Regions from separate parts of the Homo sapiens genome. Here region 1 is linked to region 2. Evidence: promoter capture Hi-C in 16 types of primary human blood cells and fetal thymus (Javierre and others, 2016). All regions are on one chromosome and are shown on one strand. Each heading gives the region's core, a stretch centred on a gene start or on the middle of the fragment in contact. The rest is flanking DNA. Distances are from core to core; before and after follow the strand shown. Region 1 holds the start of TCN1 (transcobalamin 1). Region 2 holds the start of MRPL16 (mitochondrial ribosomal protein L16).

The links. The method cuts DNA at HindIII sites, captures the fragments that hold promoters and counts their contacts. A CHiCAGO score of 5 or more calls a contact.
Region 1: a contact is called between the fragment with the promoter of TCN1 here and the fragment with the promoter of MRPL16 in region 2, in 1 of 17 cell types (neutrophils). The highest score is 14.2, in neutrophils.

What each region holds. Positions count from the first base shown.
Region 1 is chr11:59,863,268-59,868,194 of GRCh38, forward strand. TCN1 (transcobalamin 1) reads right to left here and starts at 3,220. Exons shown (of 9, transcript NM_001062.4): 1 at 3,125-3,220; 2 at 640-819. The coding sequence starts at 3,203. The HindIII fragment of the contact is 12,351 bases long and covers 1,124-4,927 here.
Region 2 is chr11:59,808,503-59,813,271 of GRCh38, forward strand. It overlaps MRPL16 (mitochondrial ribosomal protein L16), which reads right to left and starts at 2,276. Exons shown (of 4, transcript NM_017840.4): 1 at 2,102-2,276; 2 at 1,353-1,418. The coding sequence starts at 2,156. RefSeq lists an enhancer at 2,270-2,489. The HindIII fragment of the contact is 7,606 bases long and covers 735-4,769 here.

The DNA of each region.
Region 1 (4,927 bases), core at 1,970-4,469, 56 kb after region 2:
CGTTTTGGAATCATACAATCCTTATGAAAGTGAAAAAGAGGAAAAATAGATAAACAACAAGATCTTGGGTTTTTTTTTCTTTGTGGTACCAGCTTGCTAGGATAGTAATTCTTGATTTTTAATGTTCTGCCTTTTAGAGTATCCAAACTCTCAGGATTCTCATAATTCTTATAATAATATTATGAGGTAGGTAAGAGTGGCTTCTTTTCCCCTTATACTAATTAGAAAACTGAGGCTCAGTATTAACATGACTGGTTCAAGGCCCACCCATACCTAGTTCAAATCTGGGTTGTTCCATGGTTGCCTTTCCATCACCAGCTTTCTTAGTTATGATCTGTATTCCCATGTGGTTGTGAACTAAGCTAGCTTATATAACAGCATTAATGGATAAAAATCCATAGCTTTTGTTTGTGGCTTCTTGAAGAAAAGTGGTTTTTAAGACCAAAAGAAGCAAGACCTAGCTCTAGGGTGAATGGCATGGGATTGTATTTTGGGCATGTTTCTGTTACCTCAAGTTTGGTACCATTAGAAGGGATGTAGCAGGGATACTTTGGATGCATAATTTTTTAGGATTAGTTGCAGATAATCTTTAAATAGGTAGATTTTTTTCTAAATCTTCCAGAATATACAGCAACTTACATCTGCTTTTCACATTGTATTTGATTTGTTGGATCATCTTTTGCATCAGGGTTTGGATCTGGATTCCAACAAGTTTGAGGGACAACACAACATTGACAGCGCTGGTTCCCCTGTTATAGTTTGACTGGATCATTGTATTCAACAGAGGTTTTAGGCGGATGTAGTTTTCTTCACTTACCTCTGTGGCAGAGAAGGAAGGAAATAAGAAACACATACTCAGAAAATAGTAAGACTTGCAGCAGGGGTTATATAAAAATATTTAGTAACAGATATGGCACAGACCTAGACCAATCCAGTGGCTGCAGACTGTGTTGGTGGAATAATACAAAGGTGGGTCTTGAACCCACCCCCATGCCAGACATTACTCCTTTAACAACCAACATGAAAATGTTTTAATATTTTAACAACTGGTGCAGACTTATCATTGTGTACTGGCAGACTCCTGCCTGGGAAATCTAGCATCATTCCCTAATTTTGTATATGAAGCTTAGATAGATTGTCCTTAAAGAAACTTCCATAATTGGAGGCTGAGCTGAAACTAGACTACATGTCTTCTGACTCTCAGTAAGCAGGACTTTCTACTTCCTGGATTCAGTTCTTTCCTTCTCCATCTTCTAAATCAACTGGGTTAATGTTGAGAAAATGCAGGTAATAATTCTGTGTTATACTGGTGATTGACCCCAAAACTTCATTGTCTGATTACCCAGCTGGCTGGGCATCGAGATCATTATTTAGCATTATGCAGCCTGTAAAAAACTCTCCAGTTTTAGCCTACAATATGCCCCAATTCCAGAGATGGAGGGAAGTCACATTATACTGTGGAAGTAGGAAAATCCATAGCTCCCAAGGAAATAGAGGAGAATAAAAAGATTTACTATTTATTTAAACACAGGACACTTTGTCAATGTATTTTTCCATAATCTTGAGGAGTAGCCCCAAATCCTACATATCTCCAGATTATCTAATGGATTAGTGGGAGAGTGAGAAGAACATGAGGTTTGGATTCAGATTTTGGCCACATTTTGTGCTCCTTAACTTATGACTGTGGATAATAACTTATGTAACTTGTTTTACTCTTAGTTTTCTCATTTAAAAATTGTGGCTGTTAACACTTACCTTACAGATATTGGACAAGAAACCACCGAATAAACTGTAAAATGCTGCACATACTATTATTTCCAGCTCAACTGGAGTTTTTATCACTATACTTGAGAATCAAGGAAATGTAATTTCTCTTGCCCAGTTTTCTTTACTTTAAAAGAATGAGTCAAGAAGATCTGAATAGAGTGATTGTAGAAAGGTCATGGTTTGTTGCAGACACAATGGAACAATTGTGAGTCAGTTCTCTGAGATTTTGTGGAACCATCCAGCTCAGCAGATTTTCTGGCCCTGAAACAGACTTTTTAGTTCCTGATCAACAACTCAAATCAGCTTCCTTGAGTCTCAAAGATAAATTTAATTATTATCATTATTATTTAAAATGAATTGAAAGCTAAAACCTACATAGCCATTCCCTATTCTTAGGATCCAACAGGGGAAATGTCAAGCCAAGAAGAAAAATCAGAGTCAGAAGAGTCTATGCTTTAGCCTGTATGTATACAAGCCTGTCTTCTGTGGTGTTCTCTTCTTACTGGTTAGAGAGCACAGATAGTACCACCTAGTAATCTTTGGACTGGTTTGAAGCTCAATTTCAGAGTAAAGTCTCACAAAAGAGAATTCATGCACTTGAGAACTGCACCAGACTTCATGAGATAATTTGCTTCAATAGTCTCCCCTCATTATCCTTTATTTATGAATGAAGCTAAAGAAATTCAGAAATGTTGGGTCATTCAATAACTAAGGGATCAAACTAAACCTGAATTTAGTTTTCCCTTCTCTTACTTTAAAGTTCTTTTACAGAACCACACAATCTCTGGGGTCAACACCCATGCAAGAGATGATGGAACTTTATCCCATGTGTCCTGGGAAAGAGTTGAAGGAAGGTGGACATGCAACTTGGAACATCTAAACTCACTCATGACAAGACAGCAGTCATCACTATTTGAAAGAGATTATTATTTTTTTCTATGTAGTTACAAGGGGTTAACCCAAAAATCATGCATTGAATTTCAGGGAAAAAAGATTGCATATCAAGACCAAAAGATAACTTTCCATGATCTAGAAAAGTTTCTGGGAGCATAAATTTTCTGTCATTGAAAAGTCACATGAATAGGGAGTTACTTGGTAGGGATGCTGTGCTAGAGAGGATCTGAGCATAGAAAGAGCAGTTAGGCAAGTGAATACACAATCTATAATTCCTCTTACAACAACATGCATTGTGAGACTTTCCTCACCATCTCCTGCCACCCTTTTCATCATTCATGGAGTCCAACCACATACGAAACTGGAATGGGATCTTTTCTCAGGTAACTCTACATAGAGTCTCTTGTCAACAGTTTTCAGTAGACTATCACTCTAGAGTAATTTTAGCTCAAAGTTTACTCACCACAAATCTCGCATAGTTGGCTTGGAATAAAAGAAAACAGTAAGAGCCCCACTAGGGGCAGCTGGTGTGACTGTCTCATCTCTCCAACAGTGTACCAGAATGTTGATGAATTGGCTGGCTATTTATTAAGTGATGGGCAGAAGGTAATGAGAGCTCCTCCTTCAGGTTGCCTCAGCCTCTTTTCACTCAAGCAAATATTGAGCAATGTCAGGAGGTGTGGTCAAGTGTATTTGTCCATGTGATGTAATAAATAAGGAAGAAGACTTGAAGGATGTGGTTAGGGAGAATAAGGCAATAACTTTCCTTTGTCTCCTGTCCTAAACCTTCGGGTTTCATATCTATTATTTGCCTTCCGTGCAGTGAAGATATATTAGGCAAATGACTGTTTCCTATAATCTTTCCTTTTTTTTCCGTTTCACTTTATGTTTTATGTTTCCTGATAAAGTAGATTTGATCATGCAAACACATACAACATATAAAAATGGAAGTAAAAGAAGACATCCAAATGGGAAGCAGGCATATGAAAAAGTGCTTGAAAAGGTGCTTAACATCATTGATCATCAGATAAATGGAAATCAAAGCTACAATGAGATATCCTCTCATCTCAGCTAAAAATGGCTTTATTCAAAACACAGGCAATAACAAATGCTGGCACGGATGTAGAGAAAAGGGAAGCCTTGTACACTGTTGGTGGGAATGTAAATTAGTACAATCACTATGGAGAACAGTTTGGAGCTTCCTCAAAAAACTAAACATAGAGCTACCATATGATCCAGCAATCCCACTGCTGGCTATATACCCAAAAGAAAGAAGACCAGTATATTGAAGAGATATCTGCACTCCCATGTTTGTTGCAGCACTGTTTACAATAACCAAGATTTGGAAGCAAGCTAAGTGTCTATCAACAGATAAATGAACACAGCAAATGTACATATACACAATGGAGTACTATTCAGCCATATAAAAGAATGAAATCCTGTCAGTTGTGACAAAATGGATGGAACTGGAGATAATTATGTTAAGTGAAATAAGCCAGGCACAGAAAGACATACATTGCATGTTCTCACTTATTTGTGGGATCTAAAAATCAAAACAATTGAATTCATAGAGATAGAGAATGAAAAGATGGTTACTGGGGGCTGGGAAGGCTAGTGGTGGGAAGGAGATGCGGAGGGTTAATGGGTACAAAATATTGGAAAGAATGAATAAGACCTACTATTGGTAGCATAACAGGGTGACTATAGTCAATAATAATTTAATTGTACATTTTAAATAACTAATAGTATAACTGGATTGTTTGTAACGTAAAGGATAAATGCTTGACAGGATGAATACCCCCTTCTCTATGATGTGATTATTACGCATTGCATGCCTGTATCAAAACATTTCATGAGCCCCATAAATATATACACCTACTATGTACCTACAAAAATTGAAATAAAAAAATTTAAAAACGGAAGTAAAAGTTGTAAGTCTGAAATTGAAGCAGGCAGTATTGGAGAACCCAGCACATGAGGGGATCTTTGGCATAGTGGTTTCCAAACTATGATTTTTCTCCTAAGATAGATTCCATGAGAGTTTCCTAACCAAGGAGGAAAACCAGAGAGCTATACATCAAATGTGAATTTCTGCCCTGCCAGGGCAGTTGCTACATGTGAGAAGTGTTGCCTATCACAGTTCTTCTGAGAACTATTAGAGAATACTGTCAGCCTAGCTAAGGATGTCATGACTTAATGAGCCACTATTTGCATTGTACCTCTGTGATGGTTAATTTTCTGTGTCAACTTGACTGGCACCTGAGTG
Region 2 (4,769 bases), core at 1,026-3,525:
TAGTATTTTTAATCTCCATTTTATAGAAGAGGAACCCGAGGGCTAAAAACACTTTATAATCTGGTCTATGCCATCCAGTTCAACAGCAAAGCTACATACCATGTCACAAAAATATATACATATATTTCCCTGCCTCTCTGGATGTTAATGGGGGTAGTGGAAGAATACTATATTGTACATAAAAATATCTAAGTTCTCCAGCTCTGCCACATTCTTGTTGAGAAACTTACAACCTAGGAATCCTTTGATCAATGCTCTTTCTCTCATATATGCAGGGACTTTTCATGCTGAGACCTGCACAGGTCAGTGTGCCAGGTTTTGGTGGGTGGGCAAAACTTCAGGCCAGACATGTGACATCTTCTTTATCATCCTTACTTGACGATTTGGGGAAAAAAGTTAACATACAAATCATTTTTAAAAATTTCTTAAATGAACCAAGTATGGCTTTATAATGGAGACAAATACAAAATAGAAGAGTTTGAGGAAATACCAAATTATTACTATCAGAGTTTCAGAAGCTGCCCCTCAACTTCTATATGTAGCTACAGAGAATCTTAGTAATGCTTTCTTTCACCTACAAGTCAAAATGTACTTTCAAAACGTGGTTTAACAATTCTGTACAGAAGACCCTCAGATGTACAGACCCTATTCATTTTTTTTGAGGGTTCCAGTATATTTCTTTTTTAAAAAGTAAACTAGTTTTACGATATTGTGGCTTAAATTTAACAAATTAAAGCTTTTTCACATATCGTTAGATGACTGCATATATGTAAACTTATTTGGAAAGAACATCAAAAGTTCAGGTTTTTTTTTTCTTTTGAGACAGAGTCTCACTCTGTTGCCCAGGCTGGAGTGCAGTGGCCTCCTGAGTAGCTGGGATTACAGGTGTAAACTACCACGCCCAGCTAATTTTTTGTATTTTTAGTAGAGATGGGGTTTCACCAGGTTGGCAGGCTGGTCTCCAACTCCTGGCCTCAAGTGATCCACCCGCCTCCGCCTCCTAAAGTGCTGTGATTACAGGCGTGAGCCACCATGCCCGCTCAAAAATCCAGATTTCAGGCCAATGACTACTGGCTGAGTGGACCATGGGACACACACCAGTGGGAGGTTTTAGGGGAGCTATCTCATTAGACGCTGCTCCGTAAGAGCAAGGAACTTTTTTGGTTTCCTTTGTCTTTGATTTATTTCTAGTGCTCAGAATATTAGTTGGCAAAACTGTAAGCTCTAAAAACATATTTATTGAAAGAGTGAACGGGGATGGGAAACACGAGAACATTCCTATGTCATCTCCCACCCGCTCCTGGTTTCCATCAGAGAAAAGATTTACGAACAGGAGAAAGACAAGCTCTCACCTTCAAAACTTGGTACTGGGAGCAGTGTCTTTACGCCAGCACTGGCGGGGAGGAGTGCCCAGGAATCTACAAAGACAAATCAAGTTAAACGACGAAGGTAACAGGCCGGGACCCCGATACAACCTGGGCCAAAGGTACTACTTCTTATTTTTATTTATTTTATTTTTTTGAGACGGAGTCTTACTCTGTCGCCCAGGATCCAGTGCAGTGGCGCGATCTCGGCTCACTGCAACCTCCGCCTCCCGGGTTCAAGAGATTCTCCTGCCTCAGCCTCCGGACTAGCTGGGATTACAGTCGCCCACCACCACGCCCAGCTAATTTTTTTTGTATTTTCAGTAGAGACAGGGTTTCACCATGTTGGCCAGGCTGGTTTCAAACTACTGACCTCAAGTGATTCGCCCGCCTCGGCCTCCCAAAGTGCTGCTATTAAAGGCGTGAGCCACCGCGCCCGCCCAAAAGTACTTCCGCCGGAGGAGTCTTGAGGTGTGGGATGCGGATTCCACTAAATGGACTCAAAGGCTCAGGCTCCGCAAAAGGCCAGCCGGGATCTCTGGGCGCCGACTCCCAGACGCAGCTGTGACCCTCTTGCACGAACCCCTACGGTGGAGGTCGGCGGTGCGATAGCGTAGTTCCTAACCAGTGCTTCACCAAGCATATGCAGAGCCGCCTTTTGGGTTAGGGAGAAAAAGCACTGGAGGGTGGGGGAGGAAGAGGGGTAAAGTCTTTAGGAACCAAAAGGGACTTCTGACCTGACAAGGGCACCCGCAGGAGCGGCGCACTAGCGCGAGCCAGCAGCCTCCACATGGTCACGGGCGTCCGGCGGCGCGGAGCTCCCCCAGCGACTCCGGCTGTCTCCTGCACCCAGGTAAGCAGCGGCGCTCCACTACCTAGCTGTAATCGGCTCAGGACACCGCTCAGTGGGGCCGGAAGTTGTGTTCACTCGGGTCCACTCCGCAGAGTCCCGACGGAAGCGAAAGAAACTCGAGCGACGGGGGTTGAGTTCCGGGGGAGGTTGAGTTCCTGCGGTCAAAGGCGCCGTCCGCCCAGCCACGCCCAGGGGCCCTGTTGGCTCTCTAGGGTTCTCCTTCCAATCTCCAGTCTTTCCCCAGAAGAAGAGGGCGGCGGGGCGGGGAGTCTTTTGTTTTATTTATTTATTTTTCTGCGGAGTACAACTGTTAGTGCCTGCCGGTTGCTTAGCAAGGTGGTCCCTTACGATTCACAGCCTTTGAGATGATTTTCTAGGGGACCCCTCAAAGACATTAGGAGAATACCAGATTTAGCAATGGTTTAACATGTATAGGGCAATTGCAATGTGTCATTGAGTACCTCATTCGTTAGTCCTGCCAACGAATCTGTGAGATAAGTCATTATACTTATTTTGCAGATTCCATCCTGAGGGTGAAATAATTTAACTTGTTCTGGGTCATACAACAGGAAAACAGTACCATCAGAATTTGAGCACAGTCTGTGATTCCAGAGATCTCAGTGAATGAACAATATTGTTGATGAAAAGAGTGAAATTCTGTAAGATATTGGAAGAGATTTATTCTGAGCCAAATATGAGCAACCATGGCCTGTGACACAGCCCTCAGGGGGTCCTGAGAACATGTGCCCAAGGTGGTAGAAGTGCAGCTTGGCTTTATACATATTAGAGGGGCATGAGACATCAATCAAATGCATTTAAGAAATACATTGGTTTGGTTCAGAAAGGCGGGACAAGTCAAGGTGGGCTTCTAGGCTATAGGTAAATGTAAACATTTTCTGGTTGACAATTGGTTGAGTTTGTCCAAAGACCTGGGATGGATAGAAAGGAATGTTCAGGTTAAACATAAATGATTGTAGAGACCAAGTTTTATTATGCAGAGGAAGCTCTTAGATAGCAGACTTTAGAGAAAGACTGTTGTAAATTGTTTTTTTATCTGACTTAAAGGGTGCCTGGAGGCCGGGCGCAGTGGTTCACGCCTGTAATCCCAGCACTTTGGGAGGCCAAAGCGGGCAGATTACCTGAGGTCAGGAGTTCAAGACCAGCCTGACCAACATGGTGAAACCCCGTCTCCACTAAAAATACAAAAAATTAGCTGGACGTGGTGGCGGGTGCCTGTAATCCCAGCTACTCGGGAAGCTGAGGCAGGAGAATCACTTGAACCTAGGAGGCGGAGGTTGCAGTGAGCCGAGATCACGCCACTGCACTCCAGACTCCAGACTGGGCAAGACAGAGAAAAAAAAATATGCCTGGCTCTTAGTTGATTGTCTCCTGGATCTGGGAAGGAAGGAAGGAAAACAAAGGGGAAAGAGAATACCTATAGAAATGGATTTTTCCCGCAAGAGACTTTGCAGGGCAATTTCAAGATATGGCAAAGAAATATATTTTGGGGTTAAATATTTTTTTCTTTGTCTCATAATGTTATGCCAGAGTCATGTTGAAAAGTAAGTCACAATATATAGGGTAAAATAAAACCTATATGATGAGAATTTATGGTTTGTAGGGCATGATTCCCTTAGGTAGGAATTTGGGCAAGATAAAAAATCAGAGCTTAGTCCTCAAGTTGAATATTGTGCAATATTGTTTTGAGTGAAAAATGAAGTGGCACTAAAATCACGGTTTGATTGGTCTCTAAGTCTTTTGGTACCCCAAAACTTCTACCTTATTGTTTATTTCAAAAGAGCCAAAAAGTGCAATCTACGGATCCAGTGCAATCCCTATCAAAATTCCAATGCCATTTTTCACAGAAATAGGAAAAACAACCCTTAAATTCATTTGGAACCACAAAAGACCCTGAATAGCCCAGACAATCTGGAACAAAAAGAACAAAGCTGGAGGCATCACACTCCCTGACTTCAAAACATAAGTTGATTGTAATCGAAACAGCACGGTATGGCAGAGAAATAGACACACTGACCAAATGAATAGGATAGAGAGCCCAGAAATAAACACACACATTTATACTTCATTGATTTGTTTTTTTTTTTCTTGAGACATAGTCTCACTCTGTCGCCCAGGCTGGAGTACAGTGGTGCGATCTCGGCTCACTGCCACTTCCGCCTGCTGGGTTCAAGCGATTCTTCCGCCTCAGCCTCTCTAGTAACTGGGTGTTACTAGATTCTTCCGCCTCAGCCTCTCTAGTACAGGGGTGTGCCACCACGCCTGGCTAATTTTTTCTATTTTTAGTAGAGAAGGGGTTTTGCCATGTTGGCCAGGCTAGTCTCAAACTCCTCAGGTGATCCACCCACCTTGGCCTCCCACAGTGCTGGGACTACGGGCATGAGCCACGACGCCTGGCGCAGTCCATTGATTTTTGGCAAAGGTGCCAAGAAAACATAATGGGGGAATGATAGTCTCTTCAACAAATGACGTTGGGAAAACCGGGTATTCACTTGCAGATTGAAATTGGACCCTTGTCTCATACCACATACAAC